Regions from separate parts of the Homo sapiens genome. Here regions 1, 3, 4 and 5 are each linked to region 2. Evidence: promoter capture Hi-C in human tissues and cell types (Jung and others, 2019). All regions are on one chromosome and are shown on one strand. The core of a region is centred on a gene start or on the middle of the fragment in contact, and the rest is flanking DNA. Distances in the headings are between cores, read along the strand shown. Region 1 holds the start of LOC124901903 (a long non-coding RNA gene). Region 2 holds the start of BMP1 (bone morphogenetic protein 1). Region 3 overlaps XPO7 (exportin 7). Region 4 holds the start of SLC39A14 (solute carrier family 39 member 14). Region 5 overlaps XPO7 (exportin 7).

Region 1 (2,700 bases), core at 155-2,654, 210 kb after region 2:
TGACTGTGGGTGAGTTAACTTCCAGGAACTTCAGTTTCTCATAGGTAGGTAAAGTAAATGCATTTTGTTACATGATTTTTAAAAGACACTTCCAGTTCTAAGATTCTTTGACTGCAATAAACTATCCATCATGTTTTAATTATATTAGTGAATGAGAATTCCAAGTAAACAAATATTGAAGTTAAAATGATCATGAAAACGATGATTAGGACATTTTTTTTTTAAAGTGAGAATGGTATTTTAAAAAAATAAATTGGTAACACTCACATCCTTGTGATTGTAGTGTAGGATCTTTACCCACAAACAACTTCAGTGACCTAGCAGCAGGAACAAGGTTTCTTTTGGAGTTGATTCAGTACAGAGTAATGGGTAAGATTTTAGGTGGCAGACAAATCCCTACTCCTCCGTCTACTGTAGGAGCATGACTTAAGTTACTCAAATCATTCAAATATTTTCCCTTTCTTTTACATAGAAATAACACCCACTTTACAAGGTTGTAAAAGTCAATGAAGTAATGTGTGTACACTGCTAATTATTACTGGCTATTATTGATTATACTGGCTACCAAAAACTCTGGAGAATAGCAGCTTTTTTATTGCTTGCATGAGCGCACACAAAATCTGCACTGTTTCTTCTAAGGGGATTATAAATGCCCTTTCCCCTGTAGGGCCAGGGGCATCAGGGATCAAATATATAATTGATCCTCGTTATTCGCAGATTCTGTTTTGTGAATTCACCTACTCACTAAAATGTATTTGTAATCATCAAATCCATATTCGCTCAGGGTGCTTCTGCAGTCATTCATGCACGTGGACAGAGTGGTCAACAATTTGAGTTACCTGACTTACACAATCCCAGCTGAGGCTCAACACTGCCATGCTTTGCCTCTTTTTTTTTTTTTTTTTGGAGACAGAGTCTTACTCTGTCACCCAGGCTGGAGTGTAGTGGCGCGAACTCGGCTCACTGCAACCTCTACCTCCCGGGTTCAAGTGATTCTGCTGCCTCAGTCTCCCAAGTAGCTGGGATTACAGGTGTGCGCCACCATGTTCGGCTGGTTTTTGTATTTTTAGTAGAGATGGGGTTTTCCCCATGTTGGCCAGGCTGGTCTCCAACTCCTGACCTCAGGTATTCCACCCGCCTCAGCCTCCCAAAGCACTTGGGATTATAGGCATGCGCAACCATGCCCGGCCTTGCTTTGCCTTGTTTCAGCTTTCACACTAAACAACTGTAAGGTCCTTTACGGGTTTTTTTTTTTTCACTGCCATGTTTCTTGCAGTTTTGTGCTTTTTGTCGGTAATTTCACTGCTTAACATGGCCCACAGAGTGCTGAAGTGCTATGTCGAGTTCCTAAGGGCAAGACGGCTGTGATGTAACTTATGGTGAAATTGTGTGTGTTAGATAAATTTCATTCAGTCATGAGTTACTGTGCTTTTGGCCATTAGTTTAACGCTAATAAATCAACAATATGGTTTAAAATATCTTTAAACAAAAACACAAATAAAACATGGTTACATATTGCTTGTTTGACGCAAATGTGGTGACTAGCAGCTGGCCTGAATCTAACCCTATACTTCCCCTAGGAGCAATGGGTCAGTATTTGCTAATTCAGTGTTCTCGGTGACTTTACAGAACATGACAACAAGGAATAATGAGGATCAGTTTTATTTCTGGCACCACTGGGTGGGATTCAGTACATACTTCTCCATAGAAACATAATTATATTTATTGCCACTTTTTAAAGGTATTTGTTCAAATAGAAGTATTTGTTAGCCTATGTAATTTCCATATTAATGTCTGTACAACTGTCTCAAACGTTTGCTTAAATCGCCATTTCTATTAATTATGCATGAATTATGACTTTTCATAATTCTTGCACTTAGGAACTAGACATAGACAGCACTTCAGCACTCTGTGGGCCATTTTAAGCAGTGGAATTACCAACAAAAAGCACAAAACTGCAAGAAACATGGCAGTGGGAAAAAAAAAACCCGGAAAGGACCTTACAGTTGTTTACAGTGTGAAAGCTGAAACAAGAAGGCAAAGCAAGGCCAGGCATGGTTGTGCATGCCTATAATCCCAGTGAGCACAGTGCATGGACTGGGATGGAAATGCAAAGTACAAGAGTGTCTGGCACACAGTAGGAGCTTCATAAGAACGTCTTAACATTGGATAAGTCTAACTCTTAAAGCTTCCAAAGGAAATTCATATTAAAATGGCAGATTGATCACATATCTAATTTTGTTCCCTCCCCAAACCCAACTAACACAACACTAAAGGTATTCAAAACAAAACCAAGCCCTAAACCCTCAGGATCCCACAAGGATAGATAGGGAAGACAGGAAAGAGGACAACAGCAACATAATTTTGGGATACAGAAAAATCAATGGTAACTGACTTAAATGAACTAAGAAAGCCAAATCCCTAGCCAGCAGTGAGAAAAGCTGAACAAACTTCATTTATGCTACATGCTCAGATGTTAAGGTGAAGTGGGGTGGCCCAAAGAAGGAGAAACAGGGTGAAAGTATCTTTGAGAAGTTAAGATTCCCAGATAGTCCTCCTCACTGTATGCCTCTCAGTAACTGTCCCTCTCTTTGGACTGAGAGACACCAAGCCAGTCAAAAGCACATCTGAAGCTATGGGCACCCTGTAACAAATAGGTCAATGAAGTGGGAGTGCCGCTGAGTCTTCCCTCACTAGGAT
Region 2 (2,700 bases), core at 201-2,700:
ATGTCCTGGTTTACCCGCAGCCCAGCAGGTGTAGAGGGGTAAGGGCTGAGGGATTTGCCCTGATTTCCTCCATTGGATGGTCTCTTATTCCTGCCTGTGGGCCACCCTCCCAGGAGAGTCCCTGAACAGGGTCTCCAGAGCCAGGACTAGAGCAACCTGCCCCTCCGCCCCTGGTGCCCCACACAGGCAGTCCAGTTCTAGCAACTATGCCACTTCCCCTGGCTCTGGCTATTTGGAGATGAGCTGAAGTCAGAGAGGCAGGAAGTCAAGGAAAAGTTCTGATATCTTGTCCCTGTGTGTCCCCAAACAGCCTGCCCAGGGTCATCCAATCAGGCAAATGGCCCGAGTGCCTGGCCATCTGGTCACTCCAGGGGCAGGACCCTTCTGGGCTCAGCAGGAGTGATGGGGTTACATAGAGTCTTCAGAGACAAAGAACACACACACATACAGGCAAACACACACTCCGGGGTCCTGACCTCAGCTAATTAGCCTCTGGTGTCTCGGGGGTGACAGAGCTGATATACAATATCTGGGTTCTCTTTGTATTTTCCCTCTTTCCACCCCAACTTGGCCTTGGCGGGGGTCTCTGGGCACATAGGGACAAAGTTAAGTCCCCCTTCTGGGTTGGCTTCTCTGACTTTGACAGCTGTCTCCTAAGTCCCAGAAAGCTTCAGCTACTGGTTAAACTACGGGATACCCAGAGAGCACGATCTCAGGGAATCCCTGGAAAAACTTTCTTCTTCCACTTGGGCTGGGTGGTGGCTGGGGGACCTGCTCCTTGGAGACTCAGGCCTCCCAGATCCAAGCCAGACAGATGTGCAGCCCCAGGGCAGCCCAGACAGGCTGGAAAACACCCAGCTCCTGGAGCAGGAGAGATGGGGGAGAAGGGGAAAGAACACACACACACACACACACACACACACACACACACACACACACGCACGCACAGGAGTTTGGCCAGAAAAGTTTCCTACAGAAGGAAAAGCCGCCTTGCCCGCCGGTTTTCCCGGGACGCAAGGAGACTTCCTCTGGAATCCTCTGGGAAGATGAGAGGCAGCGGCAGCAGCTTCCACCAACAGCGGCAAAACTTCAGTCCGAAAAGTCCCCCAAATCCCCCTCCCTCTCCCCCTCGTTCTTTTGTTCCCCACTGCATTGCCAACCAGGCAGCTCCCGGCTTCCCACACTGGACTGTCCTCCCCCAACCCCAAGCCCGAACCCGCCCGCGCCTCCCCGCCTGGCCCGTCGCCGGGGGGCCGGGGGGCGCTCACCCGCCTTGCAGGGGTCTTTGTAGTTGAGGGGCTCCGAGTCGTCCTCCTCCGCCAGGTCATAGGTGTAGTCGGCCAAGTCCAGCGGCCGGCCGGGACGCGGGAGCAGCAGCAGCCCGAGCAGCAGCGGCAGGCGGGCCACGCCGGGCATGCTGGCGGGGCGGCGGCGAGGGAAGCGGCGCACTGGAGGCCAGGGGAGGGCGTCCTCTCGCCCGCTTGCTTGCTCGATCGCGACCGCGACCGCTCCCGCCCTCGCTCCCCGACCTCTTCCCCTTCCCTCTGCTCGCCTCCCTCCTTCCTGTCTCCCGCCCCCCGCTCGGTCCGCGGCTCCGCGCTCGTCCTCGGGCTCCAGCCGTCTCCCTCTCCCTTTCCTTCTTTTTCTCTCTTTCTTTCTCTCCCTCCCTCCCTCCCTCCGACTCCCCCCCCCCTTTTTAGGGAAATGAGCTCGCTGGAGGGCGGGTTTTCGCCCGAGCTCTGCCCCCCTCGGGGCCGGGACAGTGCTCGGCCGGGCCGGGCCGCGCGCCAGCCGGGGCGGGGAAGGCGGAGAGCCGCGCGCCCGGGGAGGGGGCTCGGGCCGCCCGGGCCGCGGGCCGCGGGCCGCGAGGCCGGGGCTGGAGCTCGGGCCCCGGGGTGCCGGGAGGGCTGTCCCTCCTGAAGTGCCCTCTAGCGGCGGCCTCCCCCGCGGGCGCGCGGCCGAGCCCCCGCCCCGCCGCGGGACACGCTGTCAGGTCCTCGCGCCGCCCCTGCCCCGCGCCCCCGCCTCGGGTCGGTCTCTCCGCCCGCGTCTCCCTATCTCCCCTTCTTGGACCCTCGCTCTCTCGCGTCTCGCTCTCTGCGCTCTGTCTCTCTCGCTGTCTTGGTGTCTCTCCCTCCTCCGGAGACGCCGCTGGAGGGCGCCGAAAGCCCGTGGATGGCTCCCTGCGAGCCCCTCTCCCCCGCCGAGGTGGACCCAGTGCCCCAGCGCCCTGGGACAGAGGGCGAATGGCAAACCCCACTTTGCTCTCCCAAGGCCCTTCCCTTCTTGGCCGGCCCCCGCCAGGGCAGGACTGCGCCCTGCAGGAAGACAGAAGCAGACCCTTTGCTTTTCAATCAGGCTGCTTTATTCTGTTGTGGCAGGAGTTCCCGGGCCCCTGGGCGCCACCTCTGCCCACTCCCATCCTCTCCCCAAGCTCCCATTTCTCCAGGGCTTGTCCCTGCGGTGTGGGCAGAAGCAGCTTCTTGCCCGTCTGCAAAAGCTGCAAAAGACCCTTTGCCCGGGGCGTTTCCTTTCCCGTTGGGGCTTCCACTGACCCTGTGAAGCAAAGGAATGTTGAGGATGGACAGAGAGAATCAGGGGAGTGGGAAGTACCGGTCTGTGAGCTTCCCCTCCCCCGAGTTGCCTGGATGACCCCGCTTCAGTGGACGCCCCAGCGCCTGGTCAGCGCGAGCGCTCCTC
Region 3 (2,700 bases), core at 70-2,569, 170 kb after region 2:
AGTATTTTGGGAGGCCAAGCCAGGCGGATCATGAGGTCAGGAGATTGAGACTATCCTGGCTAACACAGTGAAACTCCGTCTCTACTAAAAATACAAAAAAATTAGCCAGGCATGGTGGCGGGCGCCTATAGTCCCAGCTACTTGGGAGGCTGAGGCAGAAGAATGGCATGAACCCGGGAGGCAGAGGTTGCAGTGAGCTGAGATCGCGCCACTGCACTCCAGCCTGGGCGACAGAGCGACTCCGTCTCAAAAAAAAAAAAAAAAAAATTGTTGGAAGGTAGCCTAGAAACAAAATGGTTGACAGAAACCATATGGACTAGGATGAAAAAACTTATGGAGCTAGCTGCATGAAACCTTTCCCCAGCTTCCACGGCCCTCAGGACAGAATTCAAACAGCCTAATACGGCTTACAGGCGGGCCCCCTTCATGATCTCCAGATTTGCTCCTGCTTATCTCTAAAGCTTCATTTCATTCCTAACTCCTCTGGACTAGTGTGCCAGCCATCTGGATTTCCTGGTTCTTTCTTGCCTACAGGTGCAAGTGCTTGCTGTCTCTGCTGCTAGGAACCCTCCCTGGCTAACCAGGGTAACATCTGTCCAGCTTTTAGGTTTATGCTTTGATGCCAAGTCTTCCAGCCAGTCTTCCTTGATCCTGACTTCCTCACAACCAAGAGTCTAGGTATTCTTGAGGGCTTGTGTAGCACTTTGTACTCACCCCTATTGTAATGTTTAAGTGGTAAGTATGGTAAACAGGCAGTTGTTTGTTCATGTGTCTGTTCTACCCACCAGATAAGCCCCTTAAGGACAGGGACTATATGCTGTTAATTACCGTATCCTCAGTGCTTCCACAGGGCCTTGTACTTAGGAAGGGAATCAGTGAGTGTGTGCTGGATAAGCATGTGCTGTGCATTATATACTCTATTGTTATGGCCAAACCCCCAAGGCAGTGGTGATCTTTTTGGACACTGGGGCAAGATTCTCTCTTTCTGTTTAGTTAAGTGGTAAAAAACAAACCCACCAACTCACCCACCCACCTCAGGTGCTTACCAAGTGCAGTAAGTCCTTCAGAAATGGAAGAGAGAATATACATGATGACGTGAGGTTCCAGGCTTGCAATAAAGTTCATATGGTCCTGGGTCAGGACTTCCAGTAGTGAATAATAAGACTGGCTGAGCTTGGGGTAATCCTGTGGGAGAGGAAGAGGAAGAAAATCAGCTTAGGCACTATGCACTCCAGCATGCAGGGAGACGATCTTAAATAGCTTAGCTCCTTTTAGGTGGGAAAACAGAAGACTTAGTTAGAGCAAAAGGAGCTAGCTTACATAGTTTCTCAAGAGCAGTGTTCAATCTTGGTCTCAGGTGAAAAAGGCTGAATGTGATGAGGAACAAGATTGTGGCAATGCAGCGTAAGGCTTACCAAGAGATCACTGTGAGGAATAGAGAGGAGCAGCTTGATGAAGGTCTGCAGAGCATTGTCCAGGGCATCGTCTCCATAGAGACGAAAGACTCCGAAATTGACGTAACTCCCACTGAGAGCAGCCTTCAGCATGGAGAAGCAGATGGAGATGCCCTTGAGCTTCAGAGCATAGACCTGATCCTTTGGGACCTCTCCTAGTGTCAGGATGCGATTGCCTGAGTAGACATGTCATATATGTTTATTCAACCACATTAGAAGCGCTCGTTTAGATCAGCCTTCCTACTCCAAAGGCATACAAATTCCAGTAGGCCCCTGGTGACAGGTGGCACTCTAATGCACATGTATTAGCATACAATACGAATGCTGTCCTGGCTCCTGCCAGGACTGGCCAGAGACCCACATGCTGCTTACAGTGTGGTGACTGAGCTGGAATTAACTTCTAGAGGCATGATTATCTGAAGCACTTACCATACATTGTTATCATCTTGCTGGTTTCTCGGAAGAGTAAGATGCCATTGGGGGAAGAGACATCAAACTGGAGTCGCTGGGACCTGAGCAGAGAGCACAGGAGGAGAAAAAGTCAGAGGTGTTTTCTTGGAAGACTGGGGTACTTGAGGCTCTCATCTGAGTACCTTGGGTGATCCTGCATTTACATTAAGGTAAGCAATTGCCTATCCTAATATGAGAATAACCAAGTTATAGATATTTAACCATGAAGTAGCTTCTATATTGAAGACCAACATGCTAGATTCAGATTCTGCTGCTCAAATTAAAAACATTTATAAGAAAAAAAAAGCAGCAGTAGATAAAATTACTATTTGAAAATTCTCAATTTTATTTGATTAAAGTATACTTTCTTTTTTTTGAGATGGAGTCTTACTCTGTCGCCCAGGCTAGAGTGCGGTGGCGCAATTTCGGCTCACTGCAACCTCTGCCTCTCGGGTTCACACCATTCTCCTGCTTCAGCCTCCCAAGTAGCTGGGACTACAGGTGCCCGCCACCACGCCCAGCTAATTTTTTGTATTTTTAGTGGAGATGGGATTTCACCATGTTAGCCAGGATGGTCTCGATCTCCTGACCTCGTGATCCGCCCGCCTCAGCCTCCCAAAGTGCTGGGATTACAGGCGTGAGCCACCGTGCCCGGCCTTGATTAAAGTATACTTTCTACCCGTCGCCTCTTGATACTAATGCAGAGCCCTTCAGCCATTAGTTGGCATGGACCTTTATGGCTTCAGTGGCAACTGAGGGAGAGGGGCCAAAGCATTGTTACCATTTTATATGAAGA
Region 4 (2,700 bases), core at 46-2,545, 200 kb before region 2:
AGAGTGAGACTCCGTCTCAAATAAAATAAAATACAATAAAATAAAATAAAATAAAATAAAATAAAATAAAATAAAATAAAATAAAAGAGGGAAGGATTACGGAATTGTATATGCTGTGGTTAAGGAGATCTAGTCTGACCGTGGTACTGACCTGACCCTCCCAAGGTCACAGGGCCAGTTAAGAGCAGAGCAGGGACAGAGGCCAGGGCTAACTCCCAGGCCACTCCTCAGCAGGAGCACAGCCGTCCCAATGGCCTGGGGCTCCTAGGGGAGAGCCACTAAAGACGTAAACCCAAACCAGGCTTGCTCCAGGAAGAAGGGTCAGGTCAAAGCTGCTCCTAACCCCACGCTTCCATTCGGGCCACAAGAGAGCACTTAGCCACTCCCCAATTGTGTCCGGAGTCCTCCTGTACAGCCGAGCCCTTTAACTGTTTAGAGAAGCCTGTCTCTGGAACCCAGGCCCTGGCAAGCACCAGATCCTCAAAAGTGAACCCCTAGTCCAGAGCTGACGAAATTTTCCCGGCTCAACTGGACCTCAGGATCAGATGATGAAACTGCTCGGATGGCGACTTTGTCCCACTGCCCTCACCCACCAAGAGGGGGCAGCCTGAACCCGACCACCTAACTTGGTCATTAAGGACCAAAAATAGCCAGAAAGCCATCCTCGTGGGCAAGCCAGGTTGGAGATTCGCTCAGCCGGAAGATTGGGTACATGTACCTTCAGAGGGGAGATGGACCGGCGGGGGCCCGGGGACGCAGCTCCTGAAAAGCAAAGTCCAGACCCCAGAGCCCCATAGAGCCGCCCCAAGAGCCGCCCCTCGGATTGGCCACCTACTGTCTGCGTTCTGCGTCCGTGTCCGCGCGGGGAATCCGGGAGCCTGGCTCAGCCTTCGGCGCGGCGACCCACGCTCTGGGCACCCTTCTGCGGCTCTAGCATCCCGCACCCTCCAGGCGGACAGGCCGCGCCTTGACCTCTCCCCTCGCCAGCGCGGCACCACGGCCAGGTGCAGCCTCCACCCAGCCGTCCGGGCGTGTGCCGGTGCCCGGGAGCGGCGCCCGGTCCTCGGCGCAGGGCTGTCCCCGCCCCCACCCACTGCCCCAGCCTGGGGTGCGGGGCTCCTCCGCCGCTGCCCATCCCGCGGCCCTTGGCGTCCCCGCCCTCACCTGGCGCTCGGAGGCGGCCTCGGCCCCGCGCAGCCTCACCGCAAGGTCCCAGGCGGCCGGCGGCGGCAGAAGCAGCTTAGCCGGTGCGTCCGCGTAGACACGCGCGCCGACCCCCCTCACTGCGTCCGGGCCCCGGCACCGCGCGCATGCCCGGCTATATACCCGGCGCGTCAGCGGCCGGACCCGCCCCCGGCCCGCCCCGCTCGCCCCGGGGCTGCCACGTGGGGCCGGCAGGCTGGGGACCTGGCCAGCCTGCGCCCTCCTGCGCCTCGCGGCCCTGGCTGTGGTCGGCGCCCGCTCCCATCCTTCATCCGGCCGTGACTCCCGAGGACCCGCAGGCTCCTCCTGCCTCCGGAAACCTCCCGTGAAGACCTGCTCCCTGGGCGCGGGAAGCTCTCACCGCCTAGCCTCCACCCCACACCCCCTGGAGGAGAGTCCTACCCACTCTATTTGAATGTGATTTTACCACTTCTGGTTCACCCAAAAAGCTTTTCTCTTCCCTCCCCAGTTCGGAAAGGTACTTCAGAAGGGGACGCGCCCTTAGATGGTGTTTCTTCTGCATATTTCCACCAGCCAAAAGAACCAAAATTTCCTGGTCGAGTTCCAAATAAACCATATTATATTCACTTTTCAGACTTGATGCCGCACCGCTTCCCACAATGATCAGACGCCTAAAGAACCCTACTAACCCAAAGTTGGGAGAAATGTTAATTTGGGGGTGAAGAAGTTCCGAGGAGACTCTTCCTCTGTGGGACAGTCCCATTGAGATGTATATCAGGCCTGGGAAATGTAGTCGATTTCTTGAGAAAATAAACCACCCTTTCCACTCCCATTGTTCTGTTCTGCAGGACATCAGGACAATTTCCTCTATGAGCTGAACCCGCTGCCACCTGGGCCTTGGGGGGCTCGGAGGAAGGGCTTTCTAGCCCAACTGTCGCGGCTTAGTACTCGAGCTGATCCTAGCACAGTGACTGGTCCCCAGACGGCACTAGCTGTCTCTAAATTTGCGCAGGGAAGGGGGCAACATCCCACTCTCTGCAGGTCTTGCGGGGAGGACCCCCGTGATGGCGGCGCTAAGGAGAAAAGGAAAGCAGACAGTCGCTGGAGCCGGTAGCAAGAACTCAGGAGCTTGCTCTTCGCCAGGCCAGAGGGGGTCAGATTCTTCATATTACTTTTGAAGAGTGTAGCTGGGCCCCGGGCGTTTCTAAAATTCAATTATCCTCACCCCGTAATTACAGTGCTGCAGTGGGTATGGGGGCAGGGTGATATTCCTCTCATTTATTTTCCAAGTGATTTCAAAGTAATGATATCTCTTGCAGAATTTCCCTCAGAGCCCCTTCATCTTTGTAATAACCCTATTTCTCTCTTGGTTAAACTCGGTGCTTTCCAGACATTATGTCATCCGTTTGGGACTCTCATCCCACTGCAGTGGGCTGTGAGAAAGGGGCCAGTCCCCGCCACACCTTTTGTTGAAGCACTGGAAAAGGAGTGAGAAGCCCACCCAGAGATAAAGTGAAATAAGTATGCTTCCAACAC
Region 5 (2,700 bases), core at 104-2,603, 190 kb after region 2:
TCCTGACCTCAAGTGATCTGCCCACCTTGGCCTCCCAAACTGTTGGGATTACAGGCGTGAGCCTCTGTGCCCGGAGATGTTAGAGTCTTAACTTCTTGGGGGGAAAAATGACTAGCTTCTTCCTTATTTCCTTATAGCGAAGTGATTCTTTCCTGTAACTCCTACATTTCTGAAGCGGGAGGATATAAGCTCCTCTTTTGGGCAAATAATCTCAGAATTGGCCTACAAATAGAGATTCACTTCAGTCTTCCCTGAAGAACAGACTGAATTGTTTACTGGGCCTTGGGATGGATTTCCTTCTGACTCATAACAGCTGGCCATACACTAATCCTATACATATGTAAATTCTCAGATAAACTTACCTGTGGGTTTTCCAGTATTCGTTTAACACCATCAACAAGATGAGAGAGAAACTTGGCCCTCTCTGCATTGTTAAACAGGGATCTTCTGACTGAAGCGATCTGTACCAAGCAGGATAATACCTAAATGCAGGGCAGAACCCAAACACAACGATTAAAAAGACTGTACAGTTACTTTCACCAGAAACGTTCCACCTCCTACAATATCCTTCTTTAGGATATCTGAAGCAACATTATTTTAAAAAGAGAAAAGAAAAGAACATAGATCCAAGCAGACCACGGCAGCCCATTAAATTCAGTTTGGAAATTCCCTTAGGTACAAATTCCTTTGACCACTCCAATGGCATCTTTGTTCTTGCTGAGATACGTTATTTCACCCTTAAAAATATCGAGCAATTTATACTTTAAAGTTTTAGATTTAGTTTTCTTGGCTAATCTGAGTTTGACATGTAGATGTTATGTGCTTATGTCATTACATGCTATAAAGAAATAAGCGTATCGGCCGGGTGTGGTGGCTCACGCCTGTAATCCCAGCACTCTGGGAGGCTGAGGCAGGCAGATCACGAGGTCAGGAATTTGAGACCAGCCTGGCAAACATAGTGAAACCTCATCTCTACCAAAAATACAAAAAATTAGCTGGGCGTGGTGGCAGGCACGTGTAATCCCAGGTACTTGGGAGGCTGAGGGAGGAGAATCGCTTGAAGCTGGGAGGCGGAGGCTGCAGTGAGCCGAGATCGCGCCACTGCACTCCAGCCCGGGCAACAGTGAGAGACTCCGTCTCAAAAACAAAAAAAAACGAAAAAAAAAAAGAAAAAAAAAAGAAATAAGCATATCACATCTGGGCCCTAAAAAAGCCAGCTTTGGCCAGGTGTGGTGGCTCACGCCCGTAATCCCAGCACTTTGGGAGGCTGAAACAGGCAGATCACCTGAGGTCGGGAGTTTGAGACCAGCCTGACCAACATGGAGAAACCCTGTCTCTACTGAAAATATAAAATTAGCCGGGCGTGGTGGCTCATGCCTGTAATTCCAGCTACTCAGGAGGCTGAGGCAGGAGAATCGCTTGAACCCATGGGTAGTGCCATTCCACTCTAGCATGGGCAACAAGATCAAAACTCTGCCTCAAACAAACAAACAAAAAAACACAACCCAGCTTTATCCCTGAAGACATTTCCCTCTGTTCCCACTGTGTTAGATATTTACATTCTCTGTTTGCCCCCTCTAGATCTGCTTTCGACCCTTTTCCACCCTGCCCTATTCCCTAGGAGGCTGACCTCTGTTGAGGAGAGCAGCCAAGCTCCCTTGCCCTCTGGCTTCTAGTTGGCTTCAACCAATGGAAAGTACCAGCAGGAGATTAGAGGGCAGAGGGAACAGGGTACCCCTCTTCCGACCATCCAGCTGGCTATGCAGTGGCAGAGTTTCTCTAGTGATGGCTGTAGTTCTTGTTGTCCAGCCCTCCTCTAAGACACAGCTTCAACTCTCTCCAGGTTTCCTTCACTTGCCCTTTGAGGCTCCCCACTACTGCCAGCCCCAGGGGCATGCACCACCACCCCGTGCTGGTGTCCCTTAATTTTACCCATACCTTTGCAAGTAGTACTCTCTTAATCATCCCTCTTGACTGTGCTACCTTTTCTTGCAGTAACCTTAACGATACACCCGACAACACTGAAATCATGTTTCAGCGAACACAAAGGTCTACATTAATTTGGAGAAGTGCTACAATGGCCAGAAAAGTCCTCTACTGAACAAACACTATGCACACCACTCATTACTTCACTGTGTCTTCTTTATATATTTTGTGTATAACACCAACCGGTAATTTACACCAACAATCTGAAATACCAGACCAATAGTATTTTAGAACGTGAATGAATTTTGAGGTTTTAGGTTAATTATGGCTTTAAAAGAGAAATACACCATTCCCAATAGCTTTCAAATGTTATTCAGGGTAAGTATGCAAATTAGCCTTCTCATCACAGTTTCCATTTATGACAATCTAATGTACACCTAAGGGGTTTTCTGAGTCAGGACAATCTTAATAGTTCAACTAGACAGTATTAGGTGAATCCCCAGGTGCTAGCCTGTGGCCGTTTGAGGAACAGCATAAAGTCAGATACACGATGAGACCCAAAAGAGCTTGACCATCTGCAGGAATTGGCCTTTAGACAGGAATAATTTAAAAATAATTAAGACTTTATGGCTGGAACCTTTAGGCTACAAGCTTAATCTCAAAAGACTAGATAACTAGCCTAGTATTTCTATGCTTTACTTGTATAATTTTATAAAACAAAACGAATATAAGGTTCATTCACCATTGCTATCTTCTATGAATAGGTTTGCTTTA

The links. The method cuts DNA at HindIII sites, captures the fragments that hold promoters and counts their contacts. A contact is called where the count stands out against the background at its distance.
Region 1: a contact is called between a fragment that was not itself captured here and the fragment with the promoter of BMP1 in region 2, in 1 of the 25 tissues and cell types used here (bladder).
Region 3: a contact is called between a fragment that was not itself captured here and the fragment with the promoter of BMP1 in region 2, in 1 of the 25 tissues and cell types used here (lymphoblastoid cells).
Region 4: the fragment with the promoter of SLC39A14 here is called in contact with the fragment with the promoter of BMP1 in region 2 in 3 of the 25 tissues and cell types used here (IMR-90 fibroblasts, bladder and heart right ventricle).
Region 5: a fragment that was not itself captured here is called in contact with the fragment with the promoter of BMP1 in region 2 in 1 of the 25 tissues and cell types used here (spleen).

What each region holds. Positions count from the first base shown.
Region 1 is chr8:21,957,167-21,959,866 of GRCh38, reverse strand. All of the region lies in intron 1 of XPO7 (exportin 7), which reads right to left. LOC124901903 (a long non-coding RNA gene) reads left to right here and starts at 1,594. Exons shown (of 2, transcript XR_007060847.1): 1 at 1,594-2,700. The HindIII fragment of the contact is 7,088 bases long and covers 1-2,700 here.
Region 2 is chr8:22,164,122-22,166,821 of GRCh38, reverse strand. BMP1 (bone morphogenetic protein 1) reads right to left here and starts at 1,450. Exons shown (of 20, transcript NM_006129.5): 1 at 1,269-1,450. The coding sequence starts at 1,416. SFTPC (surfactant protein C) reads right to left here. Exons shown (of 6, transcript NM_001317778.2): 6 at 2,343-2,556. RefSeq lists a silencer at 1,155-2,194. The HindIII fragment of the contact is 7,716 bases long and covers 1-2,700 here.
Region 3 is chr8:21,998,021-22,000,720 of GRCh38, reverse strand. XPO7 (exportin 7) reads right to left here. Exons shown (of 28, transcript NM_015024.5): 22 at 1,884-1,966; 23 at 1,416-1,630; 24 at 1,047-1,185. Among named protein-coding and RNA genes, the nearest start is that of NPM2, 25 kb to the left of the region's middle. The HindIII fragment of the contact is 4,535 bases long and covers 1-2,700 here.
Region 4 is chr8:22,365,873-22,368,572 of GRCh38, reverse strand. SLC39A14 (solute carrier family 39 member 14) reads right to left here and starts at 1,295. Exons shown (of 9, transcript NM_001128431.4): 1 at 1,165-1,295. RefSeq lists silencers at 1-55, 981-1,650 and enhancers at 411-660, 2,196-2,696. The HindIII fragment of the contact is 10,534 bases long and covers 1-2,591 here.
Region 5 is chr8:21,977,866-21,980,565 of GRCh38, reverse strand. It overlaps XPO7 (exportin 7), which reads right to left. Exons shown (of 28, transcript NM_015024.5): 9 at 363-482. Among named protein-coding and RNA genes, the nearest start is that of NPM2, 45 kb to the left of the region's middle. The HindIII fragment of the contact is 9,023 bases long and covers 1-2,700 here.